3 separate regions of the Homo sapiens genome follow, and all the other regions are linked to region 3. The links are contacts of gene promoters, found by promoter capture Hi-C in blood cells and fetal thymus (Javierre and others, 2016). All regions are on one chromosome and are shown on one strand. Each heading gives the region's core, a stretch centred on a gene start or on the middle of the fragment in contact. The rest is flanking DNA. Distances are from core to core; before and after follow the strand shown.

What was found. The method cuts DNA at HindIII sites, captures the fragments that hold promoters and counts their contacts. A CHiCAGO score of 5 or more calls a contact.
Region 1: a fragment that was not itself captured here is called in contact with the fragment with the promoter of MFF in region 3 in 1 of 17 cell types (M1 macrophages); the score reaches 5.6 in M1 macrophages.
Region 2: a contact is called between a fragment that was not itself captured here and the fragment with the promoter of MFF in region 3, in 1 of 17 cell types (M2 macrophages). The highest score is 5.0, in M2 macrophages.

The regions. Positions count from the first base shown.
Region 1 is chr2:227,881,950-227,886,940 of GRCh38, reverse strand. It overlaps DAW1 (dynein assembly factor with WD repeats 1), which reads right to left. Exons shown (of 13, transcript NM_178821.3): 2 at 1,518-1,590. Among named protein-coding and RNA genes, the nearest start is that of DAW1, 13 kb to the right of the region's middle. The HindIII fragment of the contact is 974 bases long and covers 1,040-2,013 here.
Region 2 is chr2:227,899,672-227,904,320 of GRCh38, reverse strand. DAW1 (dynein assembly factor with WD repeats 1) reads right to left here. Exons shown (of 13, transcript NM_178821.3): 7 at 1,212-1,319. Among named protein-coding and RNA genes, the nearest start is that of DAW1, 30 kb to the right of the region's middle. The HindIII fragment of the contact is 3,631 bases long and covers 479-4,109 here.
Region 3 is chr2:227,323,112-227,327,631 of GRCh38, reverse strand. MFF (mitochondrial fission factor) reads right to left here and starts at 2,381. Exons shown (of 9, transcript NM_001277062.2): 1 at 2,205-2,381. It overlaps MFF-DT (MFF divergent transcript), which reads left to right and starts at 2,468. Exons shown (of 14, transcript NR_102371.1): 1 at 2,468-2,514. RefSeq lists a silencer at 2,040-2,329 and an enhancer at 2,510-2,559. The HindIII fragment of the contact is 6,653 bases long and covers 1-4,520 here.

The DNA of each region.
Region 1 (4,991 bases), core at 277-2,776, 560 kb before region 3:
CAAACCTAAAACACAACATTTTTGTTTTGTTTCTTTTGTGATTTTCACCCATTGAGATTATTTTCACCTTATCTGAACTTAGGCTCTCACAGGATAATCACTAGTCTGACTCTCTCTTGAAGTAGGATGTTTGTTTGTTTGTTTGTTTGTTTACAAAGACAGAGTCTTGCTATTTTGTGTTGCCCGGGCTGGTCTCAAACTCCTAGCCTGAAGTGATCCTCCTGCCTCGATCTCCCAAGATGCTGGGATTACAGGTGTGAGCCACCACACTTGGCCTTGGCCTTGAAGTGGAGTTTTGTATGAGATTTCTTTTCTTTTTTTTTAAAGACAGAGTCTCACTTTGTCACCCATGTTGGAGTACAGCACCGCGATCTCAGCTCACTGCAACCTCTGCCTCCTGGGTTCAAGCAATTCTCCTCCCTTAGCCTCCTGAATAGCTGGGACTACAGGCATGCACCACCATGCCTGGCTAATTTTTGTATTTTTAGTAGAGACGGAGTTTCCTCATATTGGCCAGGCTGCTCTCGAACTCCTGACCTCAAGTGACCCTGCTGCCTCGGCCTCCTAAAGTGCTGAAATTACAAGTGTGAGCAACCACGCCCAGCTATTTGCATTAGATTTACTAAAGAGAATGAACTCTGGGTGTTATTACATCACAAGAGGTTTCCTCTGGGCTAATACCAAGCTTCAGTAATAGAGATTAGGTCTCCCTTTTCTGCCCCATGACAATTAATGAGGAGGAACATATGCAGTCAGCCCTATGAAGTATTTAATAAGAAAATAACAGGCTCAGTAATATTCTTAAAACTCAGTAACAAGTACTTCTCAAAAATGTAAAGGTCACTGGTTGGGCACAGAGAATCGCTTGAACTCAGGAGGCGGAGGATGCAATGAGCCGAGATCGAGCCACTGCACTCCAGACTGGGCAACAAGAGTGAAACTCTGTCTCAAAAAAAAAAAAAAAAGGAAAGAAAAAGAAAGAAATTAAGGTCAGCAAAAATAAGGGAAGTCTGAGAAACGGTCGCAGCTTAAGGAAGCTTAAGGACACATGATGGCTAAATGTCATGTAGGATTCTGGATGGAATCCTGGAACAGAAGAAAGGAATTAGGGAAAAACTAAGAAAAACTGAATAAAGTGGGCCTTAGCTAATAATTATGTATCATACTGGTTCATTAATCCTAATAAATGTACACCGCTAATCTGAGATGTTAACATCAGGGGAATCGGGGTGTGGAAACTCTACCTTCACGGCCTTTCTAAAATCATAAACTAAAAGGTTTATTTTTTTAAGACCTTAGAAAAAAAAGAAAAGAGTGATAACCCTTTTCCCACTTCCTCTTCATTCAGCAAGACCCTCAGATACAACTCCCTGAAACAAACAGAAACTAACACACCACAGAAGAACAATTTTTAAAACATAATGTATTATCTGCAGTTTATGCAGCTCATCCACACATCACTCTGTGTCAAGGCTTCCCAGTGAACATTTATTTGTTGAATCCTACAGCTTACTTACCTGGGACCAAGATCAAGCAAATCTATGGACTTAGTCTTTAATTCTCCATGTTTTTCATATTCCAACATAATTCCTATAGAAATAAACAAACATGTTATAAAACACTTACGATAACCACCTATGTCAAAAGTTAACCTACCTTGCCACAGTTTTTTCCATTTTTATTTTTAAAATTTTTAATTTTTTAACAAAAAATAAGCAGTGATATCTAGTTCCAAAACAAGATCATGTAGACAAACTTTTCCCTGGTCCTTCCCTCTAAATATAACTAAATACCCTTGAAATTGTCCAATAGACAATGAAAAAATAATAGAAAGTTGGATGGAAGAAGGTAGACTGGCTATAGGTTTCAGGGCTTGAGGAACGACTACATGGTGAGATTCCCGGATTTTCTTTTTATCACCGCATTCCACACCCCAAAACTAGGACAAGAGGGCCCTATTCCCTGACCCACAAATGGGGCCCCTGCAAGCAGTCTGATCCCCCAGTGGAAGCTTGGGGCTGTTCCAGTTCCCAGTGCACATTCTGGGCCCCAGCAGGCAGTTGGATCTGGCTGCAGCCCCATCAACAAAGTCCTGGGACCTCCCAGACCCCACTCCACAGCCAGGCCATTGGTGGACAGTCCTATCCACTTGCAAAAGGGGCAACGGTGACATCCAGGGATGTCTCAGACCTCATTCCACAACCAGGCACTGAGGCAGCCTCAGCAAAGCCCTGCGTTTCCCTGCCTTCCAGCCAGCAGCATAATCAGGCCGGGAAGTGACCAGGAAGGCCACTCAGTGACAGCAGGCCTACTAGGGAAGTACCTTCTGCGCCCTGCAGGTGGCGCCAGCAGTGACTGAGCAGGAGCCTTAGCAGTACCCGAAAAAACAAAGGACAGTAACATTGCAAGAGCCTAGGAAACTACAGACACCATTGTAACCAACGCCCGCAAAAGTAGCCCAAGAGCACATATGACAAATCTAAGCAGATTTCGCCAAATTAGAAGGTTTAGATAGGATCAAGGATCCCCGTAATAATCAAAACGTCTAGGATACAATTTTTTAAAAATCACCTATTATACCAAGGACAATCAACAAACACCAATACCAAGATGAATCAGAGGTTGGAATCATCTGACAAGGACTTTAAAGAAGATATTATAAAAATCCTTCAATAATCATTTACAATTTCACTTGAAACAAATGAAAAAATGGAAAATCCCAGAAAATATTTATTAAACCAAATGAGGATTATAGAATTGAAAAATATGATAATGAAAATAAAAAACTTGCTAAGCGAGTTCAAAAGTAGAGATGACAGAGAATAGAATCTGTGAACTTGAAGATGGATCCATAGAATATATTCCATCCGAACAGCCCAGCGCTAATAAAAACTGGACAGAGCCTCCTAACCACCTTACTCTACTGCCTCTGCCTGTGGATATAAACTAGTACATCTCAAAAATTTGGCTTCAGGATCACCTTACACTCTTAAAAATTATTTAGGACACCAAAGAGTTTTTGGTTTTTTTCCATATTAAAAACTAAAATTGAGAAATTTTTTAAATATTTATTAAGTTGTTTTAAAACAACAGTAATTCATAGCATGTTATTTTTATAAAGTTTTTGTAAAAATAACTATATTTTCTTGCCCCTAAAAAGAGTAAGAAGAGTAGCACTGTTTTATACTTTAACAAATCTCTAATATCTGGCTTAAGACAATGGATTCTCATCTCTGCTTCTGCATTCAAGCTTCTGCTAAATGTTTTAGACAAAGTATAAGAAAAGAATGTAGTCAGACACTGATACATAGTTGAAAAATGAAGGAGTATTATAATTGCCTTTTTATATCATTGTGAACATTTTTTGATATTAAAACTCAACAAATGGTAACTTCTTAAAATTAGTTGCAATATAGAATCTGAAACCATATTAGTGAATTTTCCATATACTTGCATTAAACCTCATTGGTCTATTTCACACTTTTGATGGATCTTTTATTCATGCATGGTCCATGCATAATCATGCACTGGACATTTGAAAAATACTGATCTACTAAGTTATGCATATATTGTAACTGTTGACATATTTCATCACACAATATCAGAAAGTAACATTTACCATTTTCACTACCAATTTTTATCATAAGAAAACTCTTACTGTTGGTAAGCTGTCAAGATTATGGTGGTAAACAAAAGTTTTCTGAACTTATACTTTTTGCTTGAAAGCTAAAATACATCACTAGCAAGAAATGCTGGTATTTTTGCTTGAAAGTTGTGGGCTCACATTCTTCATTTTCAAGAAAATGTCTGCCAAAATGTCTGAGTCTGAAAACCATGTTGTTTCTCAGTCACTCTTTCAAGTAAAAATGCTTTTCCATGAAAAAAAGTTGGTTCATCTCGTAATTCAAGCAACCACCTATATTTTCCTTAAGACAACTGTATTAGTTTGTTTTTATATTGCTATAAAGAACTGCCCAAGACTGGGTAATTTATAAAAGAAAGAGGTTTAATTGACTCACAGTTCCTCATGGCTGGGGAGGCCTCAGGAAACTTACAATCATGGTGGAAGGAAAGGAGGAAGCAAGGCACCTTCTTCACAAGGTGGCAGGAAGAGAATGAATGCAGGAGGAACTACCAAACAATTATAAAACCATCAGATCTTGTGAGAACTCACTCACTATCATGAGAACAGCATGGGGGAACCTCCCCCTGATCCAATTACCTCCACCTGGTCTCTCCCTAGACATGTGGGGATTGTGGGGATTATGGGAATTATAATTCAACATGAGATTTGGGTGAGGACACAAAGCCTAACCATATCAACAACTATCAGACTTCACTGTAGAGCAGAAGTGCTTTCTTAGTACTTCCTATTTCATCACCTGGAATACTCAAAATACATGCACTCCTATGTTAATATTTTGCTACATTAATAATTTTTACTGCTTCATCAAGGAAATCCTCAAGCAAAACTAGGTTGTTCTGTTGGGATTTTTTTGATGTTTTCCTATTGTGAGTGTGTGTCAGTGAAGAATAAATACAGTGACCACTATTAGAGTTTGGTGTCACTGCCTCGATTTGTAGTAAGGCACCAGCAGTTTCACCTTCCACTGCTTCTGCACCATTAGTGACAATGTCAGCACAGTGTAGAAAAGGAAGTAACATCTTATTGTTATTATGAAAAATAAGTTTGACCTTGAGACCCTGCTGAAAGTGTTCAAGGGTTCCCAGGAGTCCTCTACAGTTTGAGAATCACTGCTATAGACCATAGTTTGATATAACAGATATAATTCTAGCAGTATTTCAGATCAAGGGAAAATAGGAAATGTTGCCAAAACACTCTATTTACTTTTCAAAAGCACTGAGCCATTGAGAAAGAATGTGGCAGAGGCCAAGTGCAGTGGCTCACGCCTGTAATCCCACCACTTTGGGAGGCCAAGGCAGGTGGATCACTTGAGGTCAGGAGTTTGAGATCAGCCTGGCCAACATGC
Region 2 (4,649 bases), core at 1,045-3,544, 580 kb before region 3:
GTACATATATCCCTTGATTCCTTCATTATTTTAGTAAATTAACATAAGTATACTTTTAAATAATACAAAGAATTAGAAAAGTTGAATTATAACTTGATTTTTCTGATTGATTTCAAAGGACAAAATGAAATGTAGTTGAATATTCGAATTCTAAGTACGCAAAACAAATTCACTCTCTGGCGCAGACAGGTGTGCCAAGCAGGACCCCTCCCATTGAGTGCTCTTAGGCACGTCTGTAAAAGGAGTCATTTTAGTTGAAAGTGTGGCATTAATGGGGACCTTTCCCTGCACATTTGCCTGAAGGAAGAGATAGTAATGATTTAAAAAAAAAACGAAAAAAGAACTGAGAACAGAAAGAGTATACTTACACTAATAATGCTAGATACTCAGATTTAAGAAAGAAAAGCCATTACTGTTATTTTAAAATGGTGATTTTTTTTCTTTTGCAGTCCATGTTTTAACTTGCTTAGAAAAAGCTTTCTGAGGAAACAAATCATGTTTTTAAAAATGTACTTATAATTTTGAAAGGACAAGGAAACTGAATTTCCCATCTGGCTGTTCCTGCTGATTACAACATAGGGTCACTCTAGTTTTGTTGCAGTGACTTGGGCTGGGGTGGGAGGAAGGGGAGGGTGGGAGGAAGGGGAGGGTGGGAGGAAGGGGAGGGTGGGAGGAAGGGGAGAGTGACAGATGGCGGGGAGGTGCTGGGCACATGGTGGTGACACACAAGAGCATGCCCCACAGCACTCACTCTGTGGGCAGAGCCCTTTGGCCTTTTCCCCTCTGGTCACTTGCCCCTCTGTCATTTCAGACTTTTGTGATACAGGATGGCTGAAAGACCAGCGGGCAGAGGAGAGTGTGCTCACAGTCATTGCTCTAAGGATTCTCTTGTCATGGTTCTCCAGTTCTGCCTCTTCCAAAAGTGCCAGCCTCCACCTGCTTTCCTTTTAGCCAGAGAGATGGTGATGGGTTCTAAGATATAGTTTATGTGTTTTGCAGACTAAAGTTAGTCAAAATAAAAAGCTCCTTGGACTTCCCCAGCACCTCCACCCAAGTCTTTTGGAATAGCCAGGAAACCAGTAGGGACACTCTTTCACCACTAAAATTTGAAAACCAGCAACTCAACAACCTCCAACTTAGAGCTCATTTTGTAACAAAAACACAAATAAGAATGAACACAAATAACAGGCTTATTAACATTATTGACATACTCTTAAGGTGTAAACTTCCTCGCCATTCTGAATGTCCCACAATTTGGCTGTTGTGTCCATACTTCCAGTCGCCACCAATGTGCTTTGAGGGTTAAATGATAAACACACCTAAATTACATAAAATGGGAGAAATTTTAGGAAGACAGAGTTTCAAAGTGTTAATTATACACAGAAAATCTTCCAGATGCAATTACCTTACCAGATTCCATCTAATTCTTTGTACAAAACCCCACGTATGTGTGACCTGCTACCCCCAGGTTGAGTCCTTCAGAGTCCTCCTCTTGAAAAGAGGCTGCTTGTTCTCCCACAGCACCCAGCTAAGGCTTGGAGGGGCACTAGCTCCCTTTGCCACTTCCAGACCACAGAAGAACAAGAACAAAAGTGAAGCCCACCTCCTTTAAGATCCGTGCTATATGGCTCTCCTTCTCCTTGCTGCTGTCACCACAGTCCTTCCAATCACAGCCCCTCACTCATCAAGAGACTACTGGCTTGTAGTCTCAATGCCAAGTCTTAGGTGGCCTTCACGTGGGCAATCCATCCAGTTCCCCCAGACCCATGCCCCGGACAACTGTTCAGTAGTCTCTCCCATGGCCACACCATGGACCTTAGTATTATCTTCTCTAGAAGATTCACCACCAATTCACCAATCCAGGGTCAAAATTTCCCTTCCCACTCCCCTCCCCCAGAAGATCTTTCATCTCATTGAGACATCTGCCTTTTCTCCTGGTCCATCCTCCCCATTCAACTGACACCCCGGAAGCATCACTCCTCCCAGTATCCTCGACACTGTTAGCCCCTATCTATCTGATGCACCTTCCGTACCAACTGCTAACATTAACTTTTATCAGGCAAGGATTTTATCCAACCACCTGCTTCCCTGCCTCATCACCCAGCCAAGGTAGCTTAAGAGAACAGCACAGAAAGTTACTAGTATTGCTCTTTCATGCCTCTGTCCTCAGTAGAGTCCTCAGCACTGTTCCCTACTTTGCTTAAGATGCTTCTGGCTCTATACATTCTCCTGTTCCCCACTCCTGCCTCTACTTCCATCCTCACCCCTCCTCAACAGACAACCTGGCCTCCTTCCACTTCCCTGAGAAAACTCTCCTGTCAGGTAGGAACTTCCTGATCTTACTTTCCTTCCCCTCAGTCTCGGATGTAGAGGCATCCTTCCGCCCATTCTAAGAACCCCTTCCCTGTACACCTAGGGGAGATGCACCCACTAACTTTTCCTTCCCTGTAGACTAGATCCTTTTCAGTGGCCTGTAAATATGTTTGAGTAAATCCTCCCTTGATCTTATGTACCCCTCTTAGCAACTCTTCTTCCTCCTTTACAACCAAATTTCTTGGGAAACAGTCTACCATCATTTTTGTCCATCTTCTGCTCACTCGTCAACTCTTCTGAAACCACTCCAGCTAAATGCCCAATCCAGGTTTGGTCGGTCATCCCGCTTAACCTCCCTGATATCTGCAGCACTGAATCCTTTGTTCTCTAGTTTCCCTCCCTTTCTTCTTGTTTTTCTTTTTTCTTTTTGTATCATTTGAAGTTCTCTCTTCTCCATCCTCCCAAGATTCTGTCAGTCCCTCTCCATACTCTATATTTTCCTCTGGGCAATTTCAATTGCTCATTGGTTTCTACTGCCACCCAGATGCCAGTGACTCATGCATCCAAGTCTCTTTCCCAGACCTCACTGCTCAGTTCCAGTCCCAAAGAGCCAACTGTTAAATGGATGCCTCTGTTTGGCTATCACACAGGCAGCTTATATCAATCTAAGACACAAAAGTCATATAGATGCAAACCTGCTCCTCTTTTATGCACAGAATTGGTGAATGGCACTGCCCATCATGCAAACACAAAATCAGGGAATCCATCCTGGGTTCCCCTTTTCTTTTATGCCTCATAACTACTTAGTAACCAAGTTCTACTCACATTCTCTTCATCTATCTTTACAACAGGTCTTCATCATTTTTCACGTGGATTTCAGCAAGATCCCCAACTGGCTGATAACTCGGATTTTACCACCCTCCCATTTCTTTTTCACAGTGCCACAGAAATAATCTTTCCAAAGAGCACAGCTGATCATACCATCTCCTAGTCAAAAAGTCTCAACAGTGTGCCATTACCTACAAAATAAAATCCAATTCCTTAGCATAGTATATAACCTCCTGCATACTATGGCCCTTGCTTGCCTCTCCTACTTTAATTGCTCACACCCTGTGACCTGAATTTGAATGGGCTATAGGTGTGCCAAGGCATGGACACTTTTAACTCAGGCAGCTGGGCAGCAGCAGGAATCCTTGCCCATCACCTCTGGCCATGCACAGCAGGCAGCTCCCTTCAGTGTGCTGCAAATCCACATTCACATATTCTGCACATGCCACCACATGGAGGGTCAGGAAGCTCTGCTCTGATCACACAGAGCCACCTGAGTTTCAGGCACACATCACTGTTGCATGCCTCTTCTCAGCATTTTCCAGGGCTGCTCGGTCTGCCTGGAATGCACATGCCACCCCTCTGGGAAGTCTTTCCTGAACACCTTTCCTTGGCTCAGGAGGCCACACTGCTCCCTCTGTGTCCACACTGAAATCCCCATCCACTTCTGACACTTACAACACATCTTTGAACTTATCCATTGACACTTTTACTCCTTCTATTGAATTGTAAGAATTGTGTCTGATTCTCTCAGATACCCTAAGCATGTAGGCCAGGGCTCCACACATAGTCAATATTTAATAAATATTTATTAGATGGATGTTGTTGACTGTGAAAAAGATGAATGTCTCCCTAGGAATTATATCTAAAGAAAATATTCCCCAAAATCTAAAGGAGTGTGCAAAAATGGTCACACTCTAAGGACACACATTATGTTTTTCTTTGACTTTGGGCAAGTTACTTAAGCTTTCAATGCCTCAGTACCCTACTCTGTAAAATGGGAAAATACCTTCCTCTTAGGGTTGCTATGAGGCACAACTAAGCTAATACCTGTCTATGTAAAGGGGCTTAGGACAGTGCCTCTCAAACAGCAAGTGCTGTCAAAGGGTCAGTTATGTTTCACTGCAGTATTTCCAGTCACTAGCAAAGTAACTTCAACATAGCATGAGTTCTTTATGGATGAATATACCATGAATTTTTAGGATGAGTGTAAATAAATTTTACTTCTAAAATAAGCAGCTTGTTTTTGTTCCTGTTTTAAGGTGTACATAAATAAGCAGAATACAGGACCCTTTCCCATCTCCAGGTACTTTCCTTATCCTCAAGACATATTTCCAAGCATTTCACAGTCTGTTCTAGGTATCTTGTTCCTAAGTTCCAGGGGTGGGTGTGGGTGCTAGCACTTGAACACTGCTGGCAGATCGGCTGTCACCGACTATTCACAAAAGCTGTCGCCACTGTGGCTTGCTTTTCCTCCCTCCACCCCTGTATGTTCTTGTTTGCTCTTT
Region 3 (4,520 bases), core at 1,132-3,631:
GAGAATATCTGAGTTTGTAAAAAACTAGTGACTTAGAAAATAAAGGTGGATGCTGAAATGCCAACTTCTGGAAAAAGCCAAGTTCTCCTGTAGCTGAACTACTTACATTTAAAAAGTAACTGGATTTCTACTAAGATTTAACACTGTATTATCCCAATTATTGGGTTTTCTGCTTAAAACCAATCAAAATCTGATTTTTTTTCTCCCTCGTTAGACTGTGGCATTTCTGATAATATCTTTTGGCAATAAATAAACGTCTCATTTGGTGTTGATATGTTAATTCCAGAAGTTTTGTACCTTAGAATCCAGTAGGCAACCAGTACGTGATTCTGTTACATAACAAACGAGGCAAAATCTCTCTTAGAATCACAGATGATTTCATATTTCTACTTTCTAAGCCCAGTGGTTCCCAAACACCAGTAACTAACTTGCCAACTTCATGGGTTTTTTTTTTCCCATATTCACAGAGTACATTAACTTTTTGCTACAGTTAATTTTTTTAACTCGACTTTTTAAAATCAAAAAAGTATTGTAAAAGAAAATTTTGTATCACTACCTTAAACCATGGCTGTACATATATAAATACAGATTGCAAAAACATCCTATTACAAAAAAATCCTCATCCACGTACCGCCTAGAGTCAAGTCACATGCCACTAGCGGAAAGTGTACCAATTTTGGGACACAATGATTCCAGCCCAACTTTCTCATTTTCTGTATTAGAACACTGGAACCCAGAAAGCCTCGGAAGTCACCGAAACAACTTGAGTCAAACTGACTGTGGTTGCAAATGTTTATGTACTTTTCAAAAACAAACATACAAACAAACAAAAACAAACCAAAAAAAACCCTCCAGTTGTTTATTACCTACTGCGTGGACCTAGTTCACACAGATGGGCCACTCTGCACACCCTGTTTCAGTTCTTTTTCAAAGAAACTATATTTAAAAAGTCACTGCAAACTTTTAAAACTATATATTAATGAACTTTAAAATAAGGTTATGAACCCACAGAAAAGTTTCAATACCAGAAGAGAGGAGAGCGAAGACTAAACTTTGCAATTCTGAAAGGAGGCAGCTCTATCAGACAGGAAGGGAGAGAACACAATTTCCTTTTGGAAAAAATGGCAAAACCAATATACAAGCCTTTGAAACCAAAAGATAGAAGGTCCCCCAAGCAATTTAATTGCATGGGAAAAGACTACTAAGTATAACTAAATCGTCCTAATTTTCCTAAGGGTTTTTCTTTTGGGCTCTCATTAGCCAACGGAATTGAGGCAGAAAAAATGTTTTTCACGCAGGGAGACAAAACATTTGTGATCATCTTAAGTCTCTCGGTGGATGAGAGGCCTGAATACAAATGGTTCTATATTTGGGCAGAAGGGCCAGAAACCTTTTTTTTTTTTTTCCCCTTTAATGTTCTCCAATGAAAACATGTCACTTTTGAAAGGGTGCTCTTCCCTCGAGAATGCCCTTTGCTTCTAACTTTGTGGGAGGTAGACAGGGGTGTTCTTTTACGATAGTAATAGTAGCACACGTCCTGCAGAGGAAGGTCAGAAGCTCGGCGGAACAGGAACCGCAGCTTTCCTCCGGCTTCCCAGCTCCTGGAAGGAAACCCGAGAGCAACTGCCTGCAGCCACATCTGCGAGCAGGGATGCTCACAGACGGACAGGGTGGCCCGCAGCCACCCGCGATGCCACAACCTGGGCTTCCAACAAGGCCCTTCTTTTCCAAAATGTACTTGCCACAAAACAACACAAAAACCTCCTTTTAAACAAGGCAGGTTTAAGGTCAGCCTGTAAGGTGTCAGGGCCTTGGCAGGGAAGGATGAGTGAAGACCTGCAAAGCCCGGCGTTCACGCTCACGGGACTCCCGCTGCTTCCCAAACCCCTATTTTCCAGTCGGAAAAGTCCGGGTTAATACACAAAAGGAGACGCCGAACCACACAAGGTGAAGAGGTTCGCCCAAAAACACCTGCAGAAGACGCTCCTCTCCCTCGCTCTCCTCGGGGACTCAAGGTCCCGGGGAGGAGGAAAGACCAGGGTTGAAGGCAAGAGGCCCGGGGACGGGACTCGGGTCAGGGAGACACTACCGGGGGGGCCGGGGCCACCGCGGGTCCCTGTTGGCCGGAGGGTCTCGGCGGCGGCGATAGGCCTGGCAGCCAGCTCGGGCGGCAGGTCGCGGGTCGGGAAGACGTCAACACTCACCCCTGGGCCCACAGGAGGGTCCCGGCGAGGACCCCCGCCCTCTGGCTCCCGGGGCGCTCGAGTGGGCGCTCTCAGAGGTGGTTGGCTGAGAGCACGGAGGCGCCCAGGGACAGCACCGGCGGAGCGGCCCGCAGAGGGCCAGGGCAGAAGCGCGAAAGGCGCGGGCTGGCCCCTTCTGGGAGCCGTAGCGGAAGAGTGTTCGTGGTCATGTGACGCGGAAAAGGGCGGACGCGTGGCCCACGCACTGGAACGGCTCCACGGTAAGCGATGCGCAGACATCTTTGTTGTGGGCGAAACGAGGTGACCGCAGGTGACTCCTCTTGCGGTTAAGTTTAATTCACACTTCGGCTTTATTAGATTTTGTAATCTTTAAGAACTTGGTGTTTGCAAGGTAAACCTTTGGTAGCCAATTAAAACAACTTTTTCAGGACCATCTGGCATGAAAATTTCTATGCTGTGAGGCTTAGGAATTCTCATATGTAAATCAGCTCCGCCAGTGATTCCATGAGTTCCAATTTGATACTTCTTAAGCCCTCGGTTGATCAGACCTTGTCTTCCATGAGAATTCCGGGAGAGGGGAAGTTAAGTTTCACAGTAGTTGGCGGCATCGTTTAGCTTTGGGAGAGCACTCTCTGCTTCTGAACACCCAACCACAGACTCTTCCCCCCAGGAAGCCCTTGCTTAGAGCGGGGGAAAAATGGTACAGTGCTTGTCAGTATGGGAATGTACTGAGGCCAAATAATGTGATATTTTATATGCCTTGGTTTTCACAAACACCTAAAGGTGTACACATGACTTATGTACTCCCCTACGATCTAATTGATATTCTAGAGATGTTACCATTCTTCAAAATGATTTGGGAAGCCCTCTGAATTGCGTTCTTGGGCTTCTTAACACTGGTGTAGGGAAAGTGAAAATATTTCCTCTCCCCTCTTGGGGTCTTGGCTGGGCCTAAGAATTAAACTGATGAGGAAAAGAGTCAAACTCTAAAATATTTGAAGAGATTTATTCTGAGCCAAATGTGAGTGACCATGGCCCGTGACAGAGCCCTCAGGAGGTCCTGAGAACATGTGTCCAAGGTGGTTGGGGCGCAGCTTGGTTTTATGTATTTTAGGGAGGCATGAGACATCAATCAAATAAATTTAAGAACTACATTGGTTTGGTTCAGAAAGGTGGGACAACTCAAAGCAGGGGCTTCCAAGGCTGTAGGTAAATTTAAACATTTTCTGGTTGACAGTTGAAGACCTGGGACCCATAGAAAGGAAATGTTGAGGTTAAAATAAAAGATTGTGGAGACCAAGGTTCTTTTGAAGTCTTATAGTGGCTGCCCTTAGAGACAATGGATGACAAATGTTTCCTATTCAGATCTTTAAAAGGTGCTAGATTCTTACGTAATCTCTTTAGGATTGGGAGGACCTGGAAGAAAATGATCTAGCTATGTTAATAGAAATTCTATGTAGATGCAGATTTTCCCCCAACAAAGGACAGCTTTGCAGAGCCGTTTCAAGATATGTCAAAAACTAAAAAAAATGTTTTGCGGTAAAATATTTTGATTTTGTTTCTTGTCTCGTTATGCCAGTGTCAGATTGGAAAGTAAGTCACAATATATAGGGTTAAATAAAACCCATCTGATGAGAATTTATGGATTGTAGGGCATGAATCCCTAGGCCCCTTAGATAGGAATTTGAGCAAGATTAAAAAAAAAATCAGAGCTTAGTCTCCACTGACGTAAAATAGAGACATAAAACATAACAGGAGGAAAGCATACAAATTTTATTTAGTAATTTTTACATTTACATTGGAGCCTTCCCTAGAAAAATGGAGACCCAAATTAACAGTTGGACCCTAAGTGCTTTTGAGTCTCCATTTTTCTAGGGAAGGCTAAAAAGAGTAGTAAATTGTGAAAATGTGAGAAAACAAACAGATTTGGGTTAGTGCAGTTAATGCAGAAGTGACTAAGAAGATAAAGGTTGTTGTAACAAAGTGGAAATGAAAATCGGTAAGTTTGTGCAGATACAGCTCAGCTTTGACTCCATGTCTCTGGTGTTGAGAACATCTCCCTTCCTCCTTATACAGGGAGGGCACCTTTCATACGGAAGTTTTATCTCCTGCTTTCAGGAAGGAAAAAGGAAAGCCACAGTGCTCTTTTTGCATTTTTTTTTTAAGTGCCTTTGACTCGAAAATAATCTTTATGCCAAAGTGCCATATTTTGGGTTGGCATATCCTACTATTGACAGAGCAGAAGCACTGCCATTTTAAAGTGCCCCTTGATCAAAAACCACCTAAATCCAACCCAGAGGGCATCAGCCTAATGGC